Linked DNA regions of Homo sapiens: all the other regions are linked to region 1. The links are contacts of gene promoters, found by promoter capture Hi-C in blood cells and fetal thymus (Javierre and others, 2016). All regions are on one chromosome and are shown on one strand. The core of a region is centred on a gene start or on the middle of the fragment in contact, and the rest is flanking DNA. Distances in the headings are between cores, read along the strand shown.

Region 1 (4,567 bases), core at 889-3,388:
TCACCGCAACCTCCGCCTCCCAGGTTCAGGAAATTCTCCTGCCTCAGCCTCCCAAGTAGCTGGGACTACAGGCATGCACCACCACGCTCAGCTAATTTTTGTATTTTTAGTAGAGACAGGGTTTCACCATGTTGGTCAGGATGGTCTCGAACTCCTGACCTCGTGATCTGCCCGCCTTGGCCTCCCAAAGTGCTGGGATTACAGGCATGAACCACTGAGTCCGCCCTGATCCACAGATTCTTTTTTTTTTTTTTTTTTTTTGAGACGGAGTCTCGCTCTGTCGCCCAGACTGGAGTGCAGTGGCGTGACCTCGGCTCACTGCAAGTTCCACCTCCCGGGTTCACGCCATTCTCCTGCCTCAGCCTCTCCGAGTAGCTGGGACTACAGGTGCCCACCACCACGCCCAGCTAATTTTTTGTATTTGTAGTAGATATGGGGTTTCACCGTGGTCTCGATCTCCTAACCTCGTGATCCGCCCGCCTCGGCCTCCCAAAGTGCTGGGACTACAAGCGTGAGCCACCGCGCCCGGCCACAGATTCTTATATGTAATCTGGCCCCTCTCCATCTTCATAGCACTTACCACTACTGAAATTATTTTGTCCACTTGTTTGTTTACTCACTTATTGTCTGACTTTCCTCCTCTTTAAAATGTCATCTCTGAGGAGGGCAGAAACCGTGTCTGTCTTCACCACTAAAGCCCCAGTACTTGGAACGGTGCCTGGCACATAGTAAATGCTCACTACTGAATGAATGAATCTCCATCCCATAGAGGTGATTTGTATTTACAAGGGAGGACCACGAACTCCCCCAGCAAACCGTGAATGACACATTGGCATTTAACAGCCCGCACCTTTATTTATGATCCAAAGTCCTACTTTAAATCTGAGGAAGCTGCTGGTATCTCTGGACATTTTAATGGCACAAGAGATCAGTTATCACTTGGGGACACACTCCAGGAACTGGAGCCCAGTGGTTGTAGCAGGGAGCTAAGAGCCAAGGCTCCTGCGAACAGAACTTCAAGACAAACCATGACTTGCCTCCAGGTCCCTTACCCACACACCCTGTACCTCAATTTACCCAGCAGTTGGCCAGACATGTTCCTCTCAGTTCTGTGAGTGACAGGAGACAAAATAATTCACAGCTGGAGCATACTGAGATCCTCAGACAGGAGGTGGTGCAAGCCACACGTCTCATTATTCATAAAACTCTTGATTTGCGGCCAACACGGCCCCCGCCGCCTTCCCAGGGGCTAACCTGACAACAGGCACTGCTCAGACAAGTTCAGCTCACAAGGCAGAGGGAGGGATGGAGGGCCTAGCAGAGGCTGGGTGTCCAGACCTGAGTGTCTCGGTTACCAGGTTCCAAAAAAAGGAAGGTGGTTGGGGTGGGGTGATGAAAAGGAGGTGAGAGGTGCAGTTTGGGGCTCCAGGTGGTTAATTTTGCAGGTTCGTGCATACACGCCCGCCATCCAGGTGAGATATGTGCCCCCACCAGGTACCTTCCAGGAAGGCTCACCGGGGAGGGGTGGAATCGGGAGACGACAGTTCAATCAAACTACAGAGGGAGGAAGGGCGGCCCAGCGTTTAGTTTGGGGAAATATGGAGAGTAAGAGTCTCAGAGTGGGCGCAGGTGAGGGAAGAGGCAGGGGCCCAGAGGTCGGGAGGGCGGACGGGCGATGACAGGCACCCGGACGCGGTGAGGTGAGCAACAAGGTGGGCGGCGCGGACACCTGTGGAGGCGACCCCCGGGCGAAGAGTCAGGGAGGCGGGAGGTGGTCTGCGGCGAGAGGCGGCCAGGCCCAGACCAGGGCGCCGCGCCGCTGGGGCAGTCAGGGGTCCGAGCGGGGTCGGGGGCGCTCTCCGCGGCCCCTCCCCGGCAGACAAAGGGCTGGCCGCTCCCCCAAGCCCCGGCGCGGCGCGGCGCGGGCCCGGGCGGTGCAGGCGCGGCCCGGCCTCGGCGCTTACCTGGGCCGCCCGACCCGGCCGGGCCGGCAGGGGCAGCGGGTCCGGCGCGCAGCGCGCGGCGGCCTGTTCCGGGGCGTGCTCAGCCCGAGCAGCCGCTGCGGCGGCGGCAGTAGCAGCAGCAGGAGCGGCCGCCTCAGCCTCCGCCTCCCGCTCCGAGAGTCACCGCGGTGGGGAGGGAGGGAGGCGCCAGGCCGCCGGGGGAGGGACCGGCGGAGGGGGCGGCATCTGGCTCCGCGCGGGCTGCTGAGGCGCGGCGGCGGCAACGCCCCGGAGGGAGGCGGGCGCGTGGGGCCGGGCGCCGGGGCGGGGCCTGCGGGCGGGGCGGGGCCCGGGGCCGCGAATTGGTTAACTCAGCCTGTGGGCGGGGCTGCGCGGTGCGGGGCGGGGCCTTGTGGCGCATGTGAACGCTCATTGGGCCCTCCTGGAAGGGGGCGAGACCAGCGACATAGGGACGGGGCCATGCGGTGGGCGGGTGGAACACGGCGCCGGTAGTGAGTGGCCGAGTCCGCGCTGAGAGCAAAGGGGAGGAGCGGGCCGGGGGTGAGCAGGGAAGGCGGGTTGGGCGCGAGGAGGAGGCGGTGGCCTGGAGGAGGAGCCGGGTAAGGCTGAAGCTGGCGCTGCGGTAAAGCCACTCTGCGTGTCCCTATCTGCTCCAGGAGCACAGTGTTCCGGAAAAATAATGGCCTCTCCCACACACCGGTCTGTGTTTAAAAACGGGAGCAACAAGACGGGGCAGAATCCTTGGTGAGGCCAGTTTACCCAGAACCCCGGAAAATTCTGAAATGGACGAGGTTGCAGAACATTTAGAGGCGTGGTCTTCCTGCGTCGTTGAGCTGGGAACGTTGCTACCTCTGAGCTTGGGGCCTAACCTGGGATTAACCTAGCCCAGAGAGCCCAGGGATGGGCCTCCGTAGGTCCATTAAACTCAGAAGGTCGTGTGTACTGGTAGTGAGTGGATTTTTCGGGGGAAGGGTGCCCATGATTAAAATGTTTCTACAGAAAGTCTGGCTGTATTTGGAGAGGGTACAGGGAGAAGCAGCCCATTTTAGGTAAAATGCAAATTGCTTTTAACATCCGCCTTCCTTTTAAAGGGACCTGTATCTTTAAGTGTGGTCTCATTTTCAGCAGTTTAAATTATCAGTTACACAGTGTGACACTAACCCCAGTTCAGAAGCCCTCCTACCCTACTCCTCCCACAGCCTTTCTTTTTACACCTTTTCTGTACCATCCTCTTCCACTCCACATTTCTTCCCCTTCCCTATGCAAAAAGAATACGAAGTCCTTTTTTGTTTGTTCGTTTATAATATAATATCCACATTACTCTTTACTCATTTGGGGGGTTTTTTTGTTTTTGAGAGGGAGTCTCGCTCTGTCGCCCAGGCTCAGGTGCAGTGGCGCGATCTTGGCTCACCGCAACCTCCGCTTCCCGGGTTCAAGCGATTCTCCTGCCTCAGCCTCCTGAGTAGATGGGATTACCGGCATGCGCCCCGGCTAATTTTTGTATTTTTAGTAGAGACGGGTTTTCTCTATGTTGGCCAGGCTGGTCTCCAACTTCTGACCCCAAGTGGTCTGCCCGCCTCGGCCTCCCAAAATGCTAGGATTACAGGCCTGAGACACCGCACCCGGCCTGCTCACACTTTTTCATACTTAATAGGTCCCCGGCCGGGCGCAGTGGCTCATGCCTGTAATCTCAGCACTTTGGGAGGCCAAGGCAGACAGATCACCTGAGGTCGGGAGTTGGAGACCAGCCTGACCAACATGAAGAAACCCCGTCTCTACTAAAAATACAAAAATTAGCCGGGCGTGGTGGCGCATGCCTGTAATCCCAGCTACTCAGGAGACTGAGGCAGGAAAATCGCTTGAACCCGGGAGGCGAGGGTGCAGTGAGCCGAGATTGCGCCATTGCACTCCAGCCTGGGCAACAAGAGCGAAACTCTGTCTGAAAAAAAAAAAAAAAAAAAAATTGGTCCCCAAGTGGGTTTCTCCTACAGTGTCCCCACCTTCAGTAACTGGCACCACTCTCTACCCAGTTGCTTACACCAGACACTTAAATTGTACCGTTGACACCACTCTTTCCTTTATTCTTCATTTCCAGTCCATGTTGTTTCCAATTCTAAATGGTGTCCTTAATCTCTCCACCTCCTACCATCTCTACCCCTCTTTCCCAGTTTAACCTGCCACCAGCTATCACCTTGACTCCTGCAATAACCCTTCAAGCAGTCTCTCCTTTAGGCTCTCCTTACGCCCCCATTCACTGCCCACACAGCAACTAAAGGAAACTTCTTAAAATCTTGTCAGACCTGCGCTATTCAACGACTTCTCTTCATTTTCACGAGGAAGTTCAAAGTCCTTAGTGTGGCAACAAGGCCTTACAGGATCTGGCTACAGCCTGATCTTGAACCACTTTTGCCAACTGGGCTCTAGCCACATATGGGCCTTGTGCCTGTTCCTTGATCACAGGGAGCTCTTTTGTGCTTCAGGTCTTCTGATTGCGCTGTTCCCTTGGCCTCAATGGCTCTTTTCCGATTTCTCCCCACTTCACCTGCCTGAATACTTGGTCTACTTCCGGGAGACCTCTTAATGGATGCTAGCCCTAGTCCCAC
Region 2 (4,567 bases), core at 929-3,428, 510 kb after region 1:
TCTCAAAAAAAAAAAAAAATTAGCAGGTGCCTGTAATCCCAGCTACTCAGGAGGTTGAGCCATGAGAATCGCTTGAACCCAGGAGGCAGAGGTTGCAGTGAGCCAAGATCATGCCACTGCACTCCAGCCTGGGCAACAGAATGAGACTCCATCCCCTCCAAAAAAAGTTTGCGAATAACATATGCTTGTGTACTCAGAAATTATTAAAAATTTACTTTTTTCCCCTAGATATTAAAAAGATAAAAATTACCTATCCATTTGAGTCCTCGTTGTTTTGCTAAGTTCCTTCTCCTTCCTCTTTTAGAAGAAAGCCACTATCCTGAAGTTGGTGTGTATCCTGCCCACTTGTTTTATATCTTACATTAGTGAGCTAAGCATCAAACTCAGAAAGATAAGGAAATAATATAAAGAAATAAACATAAAACGAGAGGGGATTAACAATATCAAAATCTTGGCCGGGGGGGTGGTTTTCAGTGTGTTTGTTTGTTTTTTGAGACGGTGTTGTGCTCTGTCACCCAGGCTGGAGTTCAGTGGCATGATCTCGGGTCACTGCAACCTCCACCTCCCGGGTTCAAGTGATTCTCCTGCCTCAGCCTCCCGAGTAGCTGGGATTACAGGCATGCGCTACCATGCCTGGCTAATTTTTGTGTGTTATTAGTGGAGACGGGGTTTTACCATATTGGTCAGGCTGGTCTCGAACTCCTAACCTCAGGGGATCTGCCCGCCTCGGCTTCCAAAAGTGCTGGGATTGCAGGCGTGAGCCACCATGCCCAGCAAAGGTGGTTCTAAGAGTAAAATACATAGACTTCTGGCAGGAATGAAAAAGGAGAACGAAGGATGCCTCTCGTGGTTAATGAGAGGCTGATCTTTGCTTCTGGCAGATTGTTCTCACTATATTAAAACAGAATTGGGCCAGGCGCGGTGGCTCACGCCTGTAATCCCAGCACTTTGGGTGACCGAGGTGGGCGGATCACGAGGTCAGGAGTTTGAGTCCAGCCTGACCAACATGGCGAAACCCCATCTCTACTAAAAATACGAAAGTTAGCCAGGCATAGTGACCCGTGCCTGTAATCCCAGCTACTCAGGAGGCTGAGGCAGGAGAATCACTTGAACCTGGGAGGCGGAATTTGCAGTGGGCTGAGATCGCACCACTGCACTCCAGGCTGGGCGACCGAGCAAGACTCCGCCTAAAAAAAAAAAAAGAAGCATCTCAAAAATAATAAAACAGAATTTTTCCTGTTTGCTCCTCTGGATACAGGTTGCCTTTCTCTCCCTTGACTCTTCTCCCCTTTTGACCTCCCTGTTCATTGTGCCTCGCCCTATTGAACTGTGTGGTGTAAGGCAGAGTAAGGAGGAAAGTCGGTGGTTTCTACAGTTCCGTGCTGTATAGAAGGAAGTTGGCTGCTTTTAGCCGATCTGAGCCATAACATAGGTGAGGAGGGAGGGGCCAATAGCTAGGAGCAATTTATTCATCACGGACTCAAGTATATGTGTAAGTATTAGGATCTCAGAATCCTACTCTCCTCCTGTGGATCCATATACCTCTTCCCCCAGGGTGGCTGGGCCCACCCCCTGCTGGGAGCCATCATTATTTGTGAACTAACAGGGAAGTCTTCCAGCTGCCCTCTCCCCCTCTAACAGGAAGGGTTTGCCTCATAGCCTGTTGCACCAGTCATCTTACAAAGCTTCCTTCTAGAAATGCTAAGTCATCCTGTGTGTGCATTTGGGCCAGGAGAGAGGTAGCTGCTTTTGTGTGTTTGGAGTAGGGTTAGCAGTCTCAAGCCATAGCTGCTCCTCTTTCCTCAGAAATAAAGTCCTCTGTTAGTTCCCTGAGATTTTACTTCATTTTGTCTATGGGGGAAAAAGTGGTTAAAGAGTCATTTATTCTAACTATAAGTTGTCAGTTGAGCAAGTCTTTTATAAGGAATACTTTCTGAAAATACTAAATGTCTTAATATTAAAATACTACATTGACTTTTTAATTCAAATGAAGTAAAGTGGTTAAACTTGAATGATTACGGCTATACTGAAAACCGTAAAATATAAAAACCTAACATTTTTTTGAGAGGTGAGTCCGTAAATGTGACTTATCAATGTAAAATCTTCAAAAAAAAAAATTAAGGTCCTCTAAATTGAATTTGAAATTTTACTCATGGACCAACACTGAGTATTCTACATAACAGTGGTTTTTATTTTATTTTACTGGTTTTAGAGACAGGGTCTCACTGTGTTGCCCAGGCTGGAGAGCAGTGGTGTGATCATGGCTCACTGTAGCCTTGAACTCCTGGGCTCAAGTGATCCTCCCACCTCAGCCTGCCAAAGTGCTGGGATTACAGGTGTTAGCCACCTTGCCCAGCCATAACAGTGGTTTCTATCTCTTCATTTTCCCTCAAAACTCCCTTTTGAATTTCATGTTAATCTTTGTGATTGAATACTCATGTTTGTATTGGAAGATTGTCTTAAGAGTTTTAGTTATCAAATTAACTGTTTAGAGCTTCTTATAAAAGTTCCTTCCGATCCATGTCAACTTTTGTGGCCTAAGGTTGAAACTTTCAGCTCTTTGTATAAACAGACTTTCCTGCTCCACCTTTCTTCTGGTTGCTGTGCGAACTTTGGTAATTTTCATGCGCATCCGTGTGAAAAGACCACCAAACAGGCTTTGTGTGAGCAATAAAGCTTTTTAATCACCTGGGTGCAGGCAGGTTGAGTCCGAAGAGTCAGCGAAGGGAGATAGGGGTGGGGCCATTTTATAGGATTTGGGCAGGTAGTGGAAAATTACAGTCAAAGGGGGTTTTTCTCTTACGGGCAGGGCCGAGGGGTCACAAGGTGCTCAGTTGGGGAGGTTCTGAGCCAGGAGAAGGAATGTCACAAGGTTAATCGCTCAGTTAAGGTGGGGCAGGAACAAATCACAATGGTGGAATGTCATCAGTAAAGGCAGGAACCAGCCATTTTCACTTCTTTTGTGATTCTTCACTTGCTTCAGGCCATCTGGATGTATACATGCAGGTCACAGGGGATATGATAGTTTAGCTTGGGCTCAGAGGCCTGACAGTAATCTGTTTCCTCTTCCCGATCTCCCCATGTAGGAGAAGCTGTCTTTGCTCGGTGCTTATCATCTCTGAAGGATGAGAGAATTCAAGCTAGCAAAAAGCTGAAGGGTCCCCAGAAGTTCCAGTTTGATGGTGATAAGAAATCATTCCTGGAGGACATTCGGAAGGTGGGACACAGTCCCTGGCAGTGGTCTTTGTTGGTCCTGCGGAAGGCAGTGGGGGTGGGGGTTGTGGTGGGAGAACACTCGAGGCCACAGGATGGCAGGTGGAATGAAGTTCAGCCTTGACTTGGATCTTGACTTACAATGTTTTCCTAGAATATTGGCCCTTCTGGGATCTCCACTGCTGATGAGAATAAGACTGGTAGACATAAGGCGGTCACTCTCCTAATGGCAATCCTAGTAGGTCTCTGTGTCACTCTTTAGGCACTCTACGCTTCCAAGATCATCTCTTACGCTCAAGGCTTTATGCTGCTAAGGCAGGCAGCCACCGAGTTTGGCTGGACTCTCAATTATGGTGGCATCGCCCTGATGTGGAGAGGGGGCTGCATCATTAGAAGGTAAGTGAGAGGCAGCCCAGGGTCCGACGGGAAGGACTCACACGGCTGTGCAGAAGTGCGATCTTAGGACACTTAGCTTGAGCAGTTTCCAGGGATGGGCACTTAGCCCCATCACTGGACACTGGCACAAGATAGGCTTAGATTATGTGGTTCCCTTCTTCACTGTACCTCAGTTGCTGTAACTAGATTGTCCACACTACACCTTTTTTTTTCTTTTGAGACCAAGTTTCGCTCTTATTGCCCAAACTGGAGTGCCATGATGCGATCTTGACTCACTGCAACCTCTGCCTCCCGGGTTCAAGTGATTCTCCTGCCTCAGCGTCCTAAGTAACTGGGATTACAAGGGCACGCCACCATGTCCGGCTAATTCTTTTGTATTTGTAGTGGAAACAGGGTTTCACCATGTTAGCCAGGCTGGTCTCGAACTCCTTGCCTTGGGTGATCTGCCCGCCTCAGCCTCCCAAAGTGCTGGGATTACAGGCGTGAGCCACTGCGCCCGGCTCCGCATTACACCTACTACACTACACCTTTTAAAGTACTTCTGTGAACTATCGTGCCCTCTGGCCTTGCCTCTTGGGAATTTTGCTCTGTATTTTCATTGAAAATGCCAAATCATAGAAAACGTAGCATTTCTACACATGACGTTACATCGTTCTCATGTTGGCTGAAGATTCATTTGATGAATCTGATTTTTCTGAAGTAGATGATTCTGGTGATTCAGATGATTCTAATATTAGTTCTCTTTAGAAATAACGCCAAGAATAGTTTTTATATTTTATTTTCATATTGAAAATCGTCAGATTTTCTTCAGCCTCAAAAAGCGTGTTTATGTAAAATTAAATGAGCGCTGGCAGCGAGCTGCACTTTTTTTCTAAACAGGAAAAGGGTTAACAGCTTGAAGAAATGAGAAATGTAACTTTGTTTCACTAGGGTATACATCGGCTTCCAGCTTACTTCC
Region 3 (4,567 bases), core at 1,414-3,913, 320 kb before region 1:
TCCAGATCTGGCTTTCTTTTCTTTTCTTCCTTTCTTTCTTTCCTTCTTTCCTTCCTTCTTTCCTTTCTTCCTTCCTTCCTTCTTTCTCTCTCTCTCTCTTTCCTTGCCTTTCCTTTCTTTTTTGAGAAGGAGTCTCGCTTTTGTCGCCCAGGCTGGAGTGCAGTGGCGCGATCTCGGCTCACTGCAAGCTTCGCCTCCCGGGTTCACGCCATTCTCCTGCCTCAGCCTCCCGAGTAGCTGGGACTACAGGCGCCCGCCACCACGCCCGGCTAATTTTTTGTATTTTTAGTAGAGAGGGGGTTTCACCGTGTTAGCCAGGATGGTCTCGATCTCCTGACCTCGTGATCCGCCCGCCTCGGCCTCTCAAAGTGCTGGGATTACAGGCGTGAGCCACCGCGCCCTGCCTGGATCTGGCATTCTTTCTAATGGTTGCATTATGTTCCGAACTATGGCTGTCCTATGATTTATTCAACCATGTCCCTATCCGTGGATGATCGTGTTTCTAAAAAGCTAGTTTTTCAACCATTAGAGCGGCTCAAGGAGCTGCTAAACAGCACTGGGCGCATAGGCTGGGTTTGACTAGACAGGATTAGCGAGGGGGAAAAAGACTAATTACAAGCAGTTGCGTACTCTGGAGATGCTCCCCTTAGCAGAAGCTCGGTGGACTGTCTGCAGCCAGACCTCCGGGCCTGGCGGCTGGCGCGGGAGGCAGAAGGCGGGGCTTTCCTACAGGGCTCCGTGCCCCGCCCTCCCCGCGCCGCCTTCCACCTCCGGCCGCGCGGGGGCGCTCCCCGGCCGGCTCTGTCGCTTCCGCCGCCGCCCCGCCCACCCGGGCTCACCCCTCGTCCCGATTGGCTGCGCGACGGGAGCGCGCCGAGTCAGGGGGCGGGCCCGCGCCCGCTACAAAGCGGCGAAGGTCACGGCGCGAGGAGGCGCGCGTCGCCGCCCCGCGTCCCGCCTGCGGCCCGCGCCCCCGGCGTCACCGCCTCCTGCCCGCCTGCCCGCCTGCCCGCCTGCCCGCCTACCCGCCTACCCGCCTACCCGCCTACCCCCCTGCCGGCCTGCCGTCCTTCCACGCGGAGAGCCATGGAGGGAGTGAGCGCGCTGCTGGCCCGCTGCCCCACGGCCGGCCTGGCCGGCGGCCTGGGGGTCACGGCGTGCGCCGCGGCCGGCGTGTTGCTCTACCGGATCGCGCGGAGGTGAGTGCATGGTTCGGCCCCACGCGGCCCTCTGCGCCGCCCGCCAGGCCCGCCCCCGCGCCGCCCCGGCCCGCTGCCCCCCTCGGCCGGGACCCGGGCTGCCCGCGGGCGCGCGGAGACCCCCGGCGCGCGCCGCCGCCCCCCGAGACCGGGTTGAGACTGCAGTCGGGAAGCGGCTGCGGAGTCGAGTGGAGCGGCGGGGACTCCGGGAACGTGGGGCGCGGGCGAGAGCGCCGCGCGGGGGCCACAAACTTCCTCCGGGAGCCGCGGGGGGCTGGAGCCGGTGCGCACGGGCCGCCCCTGCCCTCAGCCCCGTGCTGGGCCCCGGTGCACGGCGATGCTGGCGATCGCGGCTGGCGGTTGCTGCTCGGCATGTGACGTCCCGGGCGTTTTTCTACACGCCTCGCATCCGCGCGTTTCAGAGCCACAGCCCCTGCTTACGCTAGAGCAGCTGAGGGACAGGGAGGCTCAGTAACTTGCTGTTAATGAGAGGAATCATGGTTTGAGCCGATGGAATCTGCAGGGCAGACCCCGAGGCTGGGCTGCCTCCCAGAGGTGGGCAAGGCCTGAGATGCCTCCAAACAGTTCAAGACGGGCCGGGGCCACCCTCCTCCCTGCCCGGCTCACGGGCCATGCGGGCCCCCGGGTTCAGATCCGGCCTCTTTCATCGGCCTCCATCGCCAGGCATAAAAGCTTAGTGGCCTGTTGCTTCAGCAGAGCCTCGCAGGTAGCTTACTGTTTCTCCACTTGATCCACCTTTCCAGAGGGCAGGGGGGAAAGTGGGGTTGTGAGAACATCCTAGAAAGAGTGGATGGGTTTGCAGCTTCGGCAAGGGATGCAATGAGCTCACACCCTTAGGAAAAAGGGGAGAAGGGACTTGCCCACTCAGCAGCAAGTGGCAGAGCTGGGGTTTGAACCCTGATCGTCTGGCTGGTCTGTTTGTTCTTCCTTAACACATACCGGTGCTGCTTCTCTCCTCCAGGGGGGAAACGGGGAAAAAGAAGTACAGGTGGTTGAGTCACAGAGGCTTCCCAGAGGAGGAAGGCATGGGAGGGACATCAGCTGTGTCTGGAGGATGGGCCAGATGTGACTGAGGAGGGTAGCTGGGGATTGAGTGACCCCAGCCCAGAGGTCCCTGACAACCCAAGTCTCTCCATGTCGGTTTCTGCTGGATTCCTGGAAGTTGAGCATCTGCAGGACCAGCTTGTCCAAGCCGGTGGTTTTATACCCAGGGGACCGAGGTCCAGAGACCTCAGGTGATTTGCTCACATTCCCAGAGCATGTTGCCAGCTGAGCTGGTCCAGCACCCGGTGTTCTTCCTGGACGAAGCCGCCTCTCAGCTAACCCAGGATGGGGGGTGTTGCCTCAAGGATGAGAGCCTGGGGGAGGGGATAGTCTGCCAGCCACACAGCACCTCCGTTGTGTTTATTGAGGCTGGACTTGGACTGGGTGGCTCACTGTGCCACACACTGCAGCTGTCCTCAGGGATGCTGTCTCCCCTTCCTGCCCTGCTGGCCACAGCTCTCCATCTCCTGGAAACAAGAGTCTGGGGCCTTGGAGAGATATTGGGCTAGCTGGTGCCAGGGGAACTAGGAGGGTGCCTGGAAGTCCTTTCACGCCCCTGACGACACCAGCAGGTCACGGTGTGGCATTGAGACCCTTGCTGTTGATTGGGCCGAGAAGGGCCAGCCTTTCCCAGGATGCTTTAAGATGTCCTCATAGAGCACTGGGTTTCACCTGGAGGTCATAAATTGGCCACTGTCACGATTCAGAAGCCAGACCAACCTAGCAAGAGGTTGAGCCTTCCTCCGAGGAGGAGAGTGCTGTGACAGTGAGGAACCAAGCATTGACTCTGGCTGCAGTGTAGGTTTTGAATGACCCTCGGGAGGGCATGTAAGGAGAGCTGTTTTTGGAAGGCGACTTGGCTGGGTGGGTGTTTGCAGGCTCAGCACAGAGATGGACAGAGAGGAAGATGTAGAGGGAGTGGGCAGGTCAGCCCCACCTTGTGCTTTAGGACTGGCTGAGGCGCATGGGAAGGAGGCTGCTTCTCTGAAGGACTGAGTCCTCCCACAGCCTCAGTCAGGGCCCGCCCTGGCTTCCCCACGCATGGAGTCCTCTCGCTTCCATGGTTGTTACTGATGGGAGCAGCTGATGGCTGTAAGCACAGCACACTGTCTCCTCATGAAACTGCCAGGGCGGGCTCTACTGTTCTCCCATTTTACAGATGAGGAAACCAAAGCTTGGGGAGGTTGGGCTACCTGCCCCACATCACCCGGCTGTTAAATGGCAGGGCCCTGCCTCGCACCAGAACTTCAGCTTGTCAGCCCAGCTTCAACCTCTGGGTGCTCATGGAGCCCCTTGGCTGCTTCTCTGCACCTATGGGAAGCCACCACGGTCGGCACAGTTGGGGGGCAGATGCCCCAGTTTCACTTCCCTGTGTCCAGGCCGTCGTGAAGTCTGTGGCTTCCTAGGCCTCCCTGTCCCCTGGACGCTGCTGCTCGGGTGCCTGTCCTCAGCCCTCTTCAAACGATGCCCAGGATCCGTGCTCTGCCAGCACATCCCTGCACACACCACCGCCCCGCCTCCGGGGCTTTGTTGGTGTTTACTGGGATTGTCTCCTTTCTAGTGTTTGGGGACAAAGAGGATGCAGCCTCCCAGAGGATATGCAGCAGAGCCTCATTCTGGAAGTCAGAGTCCCCTGTAACGGCCCTTCCCGTTTCCAGGCTCCCCCCTCCCACTCACTCTCCTGCTGCTGCGCACTCTCCCTGAGCAACCGCCGCACCCCGGGCATACGTTGGGTGGTCCCCTCCCTCTGCCGTCTGCCCTGCTGGTGAGCACAGCTGTGCTTCAGGGCGACCGCAGATGCCCCGCTTATTGGCCTCTGTCCTGTGGTATCTGTCACCAGCTGCCCTGGGAGGTCGTCGTTCTTGTCTTGCTCACGTTTGCATCTCTGCCAGCCTAGGGTGGTGCTTGCTTAACTGATGGGATGTTCCGCTCGCACCAGGAGCGACCCTAGAATGGTGGATTGGGGCGTTTTCCATCCTGATGTTGGAGTTGCTGCTGTGGATTCAAGTATGTTTTGCTTGGAGATGGGCTGGAGGCCCTGGCAGTGCTAAGTTCTGAGTTGCATTTTGATGCTTCTGTCGCTGAAGCCCAGGAGGCCTCTTCTCTGGTCCTTCTGGTTGAATGAAACACGGTGTTGCCCACTTAAGCGGGAAGTGCAGGTGAGGAGCTGCTTGGGAGGCTGGCCTCTGGCTCCCTGGCCCCTGAGGGAACCTGACTCTTACAGTCTTTCCAACCCCGCACTGGGGCCAGCACACAGTGTCCCAGGTCCTGAGCAATGTGCTAAGGCCCCTGTCTGAGGAGGT

The links. The method cuts DNA at HindIII sites, captures the fragments that hold promoters and counts their contacts. A CHiCAGO score of 5 or more calls a contact.
Region 2: a contact is called between a fragment that was not itself captured here and the fragment with the promoter of CTNNBIP1 in region 1, in 5 of 17 cell types (erythroblasts, fetal thymus, total CD8 T cells and 2 more). The highest score is 8.1, in erythroblasts.
Region 3: a contact is called between a fragment that was not itself captured here and the fragment with the promoter of CTNNBIP1 in region 1, in 4 of 17 cell types (total B cells, activated CD4 T cells, naive CD8 T cells and 1 more). The highest score is 5.8, in total B cells.

What each region holds. Positions count from the first base shown.
Region 1 is chr1:9,908,131-9,912,697 of GRCh38, forward strand. CTNNBIP1 (catenin beta interacting protein 1) reads right to left here and starts at 2,139. Exons shown (of 6, transcript NM_020248.3): 1 at 1,965-2,139. RefSeq lists silencers at 1,687-1,746, 1,917-1,976, 1,987-2,586 and enhancers at 2,734-3,407, 3,408-4,080. The HindIII fragment of the contact is 9,783 bases long and covers 1-4,567 here.
Region 2 is chr1:10,413,901-10,418,467 of GRCh38, forward strand. It overlaps PGD (phosphogluconate dehydrogenase), which reads left to right. Exons shown (of 13, transcript NM_002631.4): 9 at 3,087-3,217; 10 at 3,476-3,609. Among named protein-coding and RNA genes, the nearest start is that of CENPS, 14 kb to the right of the region's middle. The HindIII fragment of the contact is 991 bases long and covers 1,684-2,674 here.
Region 3 is chr1:9,587,845-9,592,411 of GRCh38, forward strand. TMEM201 (transmembrane protein 201) reads left to right here and starts at 1,067. Exons shown (of 11, transcript NM_001130924.3): 1 at 1,067-1,199. The coding sequence starts at 1,087. RefSeq lists silencers at 663-1,072, 1,083-1,282, 1,443-1,512. The HindIII fragment of the contact is 1,546 bases long and covers 1,891-3,436 here.